Regions from separate parts of the Homo sapiens genome. Here region 1 is linked to region 2. The links are contacts of gene promoters, found by promoter capture Hi-C in human tissues and cell types (Jung and others, 2019). All regions are on one chromosome and are shown on one strand. The core of a region is centred on a gene start or on the middle of the fragment in contact, and the rest is flanking DNA. Distances in the headings are between cores, read along the strand shown.

Region 1 (3,348 bases), core at 726-3,225, 600 kb before region 2:
CCATTTTTGTAGCTGTGTTAGCTGCTCTCAAAGGGAGAATTTCATGGCAGAGGAAGAGGTGGTTGCTAAGGAAATGACAGAAAAAAAGAAAACAACCCAAACCCTCTTTCTGACCACAAGTTTAGAATTTTTCTTTTCTTTTTTCTTTTTTTTTTTTTTTTTTTGAGGCAGAGTTTCACTCTTGTTGCCCACGCTGGAGTGCAATGGCGTGATCTTGGCTCACTGCAACCTCCACCTCTCTGGTTCAAGTGATTCTCCTGCCTCAGCCTTCTGAGTAGTTGGGATTACAGGAGCCTGCTAACACACCCAGCTAATTTTTTGTATTTTTAGTAGTGACGGGGTTTCACTATATTGGCCAGGCTGGTCTTGAACTTCTGACCTCAGGTGATCTGCCCACCTCAGCCTCCCAAAGTGCTGGGATTACAGGTGTGAGCCACCATGCGTGACCTTAGAATTTTTCATGACCTTGCACTACCAAAGGGAAATTTAAGTCCTTTCTTGTTGTTGTTTTTGAGATGAAGTCTCGCTTTGTCACCCAGGCTGGAGTGCAGTGGCACGATCTCGGCTCACTGCAACCTCCTCCTCCTGGGTTCAAGTGATTCTCCTGCCTCAGCCTCCCTAGTAGCTGGGATTACAGGCACCGGCCACCATGCCCAGCTAATTTTTGTATTTTTAGTAGAGATGGTGTTTCAGCATGTTGGTCAGGGTGGTCCCGAACTCCTGACCTCAAGCAGTCCACCCACCTCAGCCTCCCAAAGTGCTGGGATTTACAGGCGTGAGCCACTGTCCCTGGCTGGGAAATTTAAGCCCTTTTTACCCTCAGAGGACAGATCTTTGCAACCCTCTCATTCCTGAGAGGTAAGGAATCATATTCTGAGTTAGAGCCTATGGTGGTTGTATCCCTGGACTCTCAGGTTCCTTTGTGGCTATTGGGTTACACACTCCAGGGGGTGGAGTTATTAAGAAGACCCTGAGATCTCTGTGGCTGCATTTTAAAGATCTCATTTGTAAGGGAAATGATGATTCTGCCAATTTCTCTCCCCTTGTGCACCTTTTCTTTTGAAGTTAAAGTTAATATCCCTTTGGACTTGTACCTCTCTGCTTCTTAGTTCTATAAATCTCTTCCTAGTTTATTTTCTGAAAGAGTGAAGTAGAAATAATTTCCAGAAAATAACTTGTCAACATAAAGTCATGAGGGAGGCTGGTGATATGAGAAATAGAAGGAACTGTCAGAGCTCTGCAGTCATGGTCTTCTGCAGACCAATAATAAGGCAGTATCATGTTCCGTCCTTTCTCCCTCAGAACAGACAGATGCCAGTTAGTTCCCAGGTCTGAATTGTGCTCTCTTCCAATCGCTAAACTACTAAAACCCAAAGTTTTAGTCTTTAGAAATTCAGTTGAGTTGTCAGTTTATAAGAACCTGCTATGTGATGGATACGCTATTTTAAGGATATGAAGATTAGTAGGAATTGTGTGGTTATATATTATTTAACTCTGGATGCAGGAATCGTCTGATTGGTTTGGGTTCCCAAAGATGAGAGAAATAGCCTTGATTTTAGACAGCATGCAGACAGGGATACTGGGAGCATCTTTGGGGATTCCTTCTTCTATAGTCACTGGGGTTATACCCAGTGACTCACCTTGATTTCTCCCAGCCATAAAATCAGACTGGTAATTTCATCTGGTTTGCTCTCTACTTCACAAGAGGTAGTAGAAGACTATATCTAAAGAATAGAGCACTTTAATTCCCCAGAACTCCAACAAGCCCAGCACCCCCAGATTATATGTTGCTAACAGCAACAGGGCAACTTGAGAAGTTATCCCACATCCCAGGCCCATTCCTGTAGTTCGTCCACCAAGGTCAGTTGGAGAAACTTCCATCCAGAACTGAACTCTAAGGCACTCGGATCCCTCTGCTGGCTGATAGCAGAAGCACCACTTAGCTTTTTCTTTTCTTTTTGTTTTCAAATGAATTCAGGTATTCTAATTAGCATTTTCTTTCTCTCTCCCACACTCCCTCTTTCTGTGTTTCTCTTTCTGGCTGACTGTAATCCTTAATACACTTCTCTTGGTGTCTTTAATTCCTACATTGAGCTTGAGTTCATAGCCCATTCCTGGTAGAAGACCACTGTCTGATGGGTGCTGGCTAAATGAATGCCTCAATACAGGGTTACAGGGGCTGCCATAGAAATAGGTTCAAGGTATGGAGGGGACATTAGGCCCTGAACTCATGAATGATTCCTGCATCTCATATCAGTGATGGTCATAATAATGGCAAGTAGTTATGCAGACTTGGAACCAAGCACTTTGTTAAACACTTTACAGCCATTATGTCATATAGTTCTTTTTCAGCCCTGTAAGGCAGCTTCTCTGTCATTTACTCCACAGATAACAAAGCTCAGGCTGGATTCATGCAGCTTGTTGATGGTGGGGCTCAGGATGTGAGTTCAGGTCTCTCTGGCACCAATGTCATAACTGCAAACTACAATGACTTCAGATACTCCAGGCTTTCCAAGCCCATATCTTGGCAGAAGTTCTTTGACCTTGCTCTCTGCCTAGAAGTCTCTTCCGCCTTTATCTTTTCTCAGGAATTCTGATTTTTCCTTCAAGATTCAGTTCAGGGTCACTTCAAGAGGGCTATACCCCCATCCTTTCCCTGTTTTGGTTGTTTGCTGAGACCTCTGTGAACCAGTGTTTGTCTCTAATGGAGCACTTATTGCACATTTTTGTGTTGATTCCCCTACATGTCTGTCTCCCCAGTAAACTTTGATCTCTTTGAAGGCAGGAAGTGTATCTTACCAGTCTTTGTATCCCTAGTACCTAGTACCTAGCACAGAGCCCAGCTCATAGCAATAAAAATGACAGCAATATTTCACATTTACTACGCACTTACCTTGGGCTGGGCAGAGTGCTAAGCACTTCATTTTTTAGACCCTCTCATTTAACTATCACACAACCCATATAATATATAGAATTATGAAGAAACTGAGGCTGAGAGAATTCTATAACTTGCCCAAGGTCACCCCAGTAAGTGGCAAAACTGGAGCTTGACTCCAGGTCTCCCTGAACTTCTTTACATTTTATTAATTTTCATGCCCTACACTTTTTTACCTGATTAGGTATTTTTTCTCTTCCAATATTGATTGAGACGTATGAGTAGGAATTACATTTTCTTTGCTAAAATTAGTAAGCACCTTGAACAGTACTTGCTGTATGTGCTCCAGTACTTGCTGTATGTGCTTGCTGTATGTGCTCCATTTAGATAAATCAGATATTAAATTTTTCTGAAGAAAAAAGCTTGGGAAACATAATTACATAAGGTAACTAGAAATGATCAAAATCTATTTC
Region 2 (3,017 bases), core at 228-2,727:
TTGAAGCCACTGAAGAAAACAAGAAATTTACCCTGAGAATGCATAATTAATAAGAGCTCAGAGTAACTGACAATTTTCAGGTAAATTTCCTTTCTTCTTATTAATAAATATTCACTGGTGCTAGATCAGAAGCCAATAATTAAGTAAAAGTCAAAAGGAAAATAGAATTCCATCAACTACGTTCTAATTATAAAGAAAAATCCCTTCAGGGATGGTATCTGACTCAGTGAAGCGTGCCTGTGATTTTGGTGGACGAGAACTAGAACTGAACGGTGCTTCAAAACGTATTTTTCTTTCAAAGGTCTCAAAAGCTGTATGACAAATCCGTGAAGAAACAGCATATAAGGTACCTCGACTCCGGCGGCAGCTAAAACCCATCTCACGGACTCCATCCGGCCTCTTCCGTTGGGATAGTGGAGCTTGGGCCTTGCTGCCATGATAGCTTTTCAGGCTTTCTGAAATACAAATGCAGCAGCTCGTCGCAGACCAACAGTCCCAATTTCGCGTCTTCAACCCAGTGCTCAGGGGCGAAATGAATATTCAGGATTTTGGCACGGGAAACTGTTCTTTATTTTTGTTGCTGCATTTTCCCTCACTCAAGAAAAAAAAACCACCATTTTAAAACATGGAGAAAAAAACCTTGGCTTTTATATGATTTCTATTTATGACTTCTTATCCTGGATCTTGGGAAGCTGGGGCCATTTGTTGTAAAAACATATGTGCTAGCAGTACGGGATTTCACAAATTCAGAATATTATATATTTTGACCTCGAGAATCTCAGATTTTCCAAATTCAGCTGGGGGATAGGGGGTGGCAGGCGTTGAAGAGGGTAGCGAAGGAAAATCGCACAGCCACTGGAAGCTCTTCAAGTATTCATGCTTTTACATACATCATCATATTTTATTATCACGGCAACTGGAAGGTGAACAGGCCGAGTACTACTACTGTCTGCAAAATGTGCGTCCACCGTCACGCATGCGGTGGCTGCGCCCCCCGGGTCCCGCGTGTCCACCACCCCTACAGGGAGATGAGCCCCCGGCCTTGTAAAACGAGCCGGGGGCCAGGGCTTGGCCATCTGAGATCGCACTCTCCCATGCTCGTCTTCCCCGCTCAGCCCATGCAGGGGCGTAGCGGCAGCCCAGCCAGGCCCGGGGACGATCCGAGCCCACCTTCCACCAATGCATTCAGACTCCGCAGAAGGGGTTTAAAAAAAAATACGCACACTGAGCCAAGAAGGACCCCAGCTCCAGCCAAGGGGCCCACCTCTGCCCAGACTGGATGGAGCAGGAGGACAAAGGACAAGAGGAAGAAAAGACAAGAGAAGGACTGAACTGGGGGAGTGAGGGAAGAATGCGAGAGTGAGACTCAGAGAGTAAAGGGGAGGGAAAAAAAAGAAGAGAGAAAGGGCGAGGAAGGGGGCGACCGCAGGAGGGAGACAGACCTGGAGTCCACTCGGAGGCCTGGAGCCGCACAAAGCGCCAGGTCAGCGGTCCCGGCTGGGTGAGACCAGCAGGCGGCTCTAGCGCGCGGGAGCTGGGCGAGGCTCCGGGACGACCTCACCAATGGAGACTGCAGTATTTAGCATGCCCCACCCATCTGCAAGGCATTCTGGATAGTGTCAAAACAGCCGGAAATCAAGTCCGTTTATCTCAAACTTTAGCATTTTGGGAATAAATGATATTTGCTATGCTGGTTAAATTAGATTTTAGTTAAATTTCCTGCTGAAGCTCTAGTACGATAAGCAACTTGACCTAAGTGTAAAGTTGAGACTTCCTTCAGGTTTATATAGCTTGTGCGCCGCTTGGGTACCTCGGATGTGAGGGCGATCTGGCTGCGACATCTGTCACCCCATTGATCGCCAGGGTTGATTCGGCTGATCTGGCTGGCTAGGCGGGTGTCCCCTTCCTCCCTCACCGCTCCATGTGCGTCCCTCCCGAAGCTGCGCGCTCGGTCGAAGAGGACGACCATCCCCGATAGAGGAGGACCGGTCTTCGGTCAAGGGTATACGAGTAGCTGCGCTCCCCTGCTAGAACCTCCAAACAAGCTCTCAAGGTCCATTTGTAGGAGAACGTAGGGTAGTCAAGCTTCCAAGACTCCAGACACATCCAAATGAGGCGCTGCATGTGGCAGTCTGCCTTTCTTTTGACCCATTACCCATCTAAGTTAGATGCTTTTTTAAATGTTTTTTAATTTTTAAATTTTTAATTTTTTTCATTATTTATTTTTTATTTTTGAGACGGATCTCGGCTCACTGTAACCTCCACCTCCCGGGTTCAAGCGATTCTCCTGACTCAGCCTCCCGAGTAGCTGGGATTACAGGCGCGCGCCACCATGCCCGGCTAATTTTTCTATTTTTAGTAAAGACGGGGTTTCGCCATGTTGACCAGGGTGGTCTTGAACTCCTGACGTCAGGTGATCCTCCTGCCTCGTGCTGGGATTGCAGGCGTGAGCCACCGCTCCCGGCCCTTAGATGCTTTTTAATCAGCAAGTACGCAATGCTTTCCTGACAGGAATGTCAAGTCCGTCAGGAAATCCACATAAGGGTGTTAAGCAGGCAAAGTACCACATACAGATTAAAATCAAAAGCACTGTCAACGCTTATTTAATTTATACAGTAGACCCTAACTTTTCTAATTTTGTGTATACATATATATACATGTATACATGTATACAAACATACATATTTTCTTCTTTCTTTCTTCATCTCAGTGGGACATCTTGAGATTTCTCTTCATTTTGTACATTTTAGAGACAAGTGCTCTATAGTCACGGTCTCAAGTCAGCACCTGTTTGGAAGGGGGTCTTTGGAGTTGGGGGTGGTGCTAAAAGAATAATTTGGCTGGCAAGTTAGTTAAAACATTAAAAATATATTAAAACTATCAGGGCTATATTATGGAACAATTGCAAAATTCACATGGATTTCAAAGTTTGAAATATATGCCTTCGAAAATAAATTTTGTTTTTAGAGGCAGCTTCTGCTATTTCTCAGGCTATAGATGTTGTTATTTTCTTCACC

What was found. The method cuts DNA at HindIII sites, captures the fragments that hold promoters and counts their contacts. A contact is called where the count stands out against the background at its distance.
Region 1: a contact is called between a fragment that was not itself captured here and the fragment with the promoter of GSTA4 in region 2, in 1 of the 25 tissues and cell types used here (lymphoblastoid cells).

What each region holds. Positions count from the first base shown.
Region 1 is chr6:52,398,060-52,401,407 of GRCh38, forward strand. The region is part of intron 1 of PAQR8 (progestin and adipoQ receptor family member 8); the gene reads left to right. Among named protein-coding and RNA genes, the nearest start is that of EFHC1, 21 kb to the right of the region's middle. RefSeq lists an enhancer at 430-489. The HindIII fragment of the contact is 6,274 bases long and covers 1-3,348 here.
Region 2 is chr6:52,993,807-52,996,823 of GRCh38, forward strand. It overlaps GSTA4 (glutathione S-transferase alpha 4), which reads right to left and starts at 1,478. Exons shown (of 7, transcript NM_001512.4): 1 at 1,443-1,478; 2 at 351-455. The coding sequence starts at 437. It overlaps RN7SK (RNA component of 7SK nuclear ribonucleoprotein), which reads left to right and starts at 1,814; the gene lies at 1,814-2,145. RefSeq lists silencers at 1,399-1,630, 1,962-2,051 and an enhancer at 1,582-1,801. The HindIII fragment of the contact is 14,338 bases long and covers 1-3,017 here.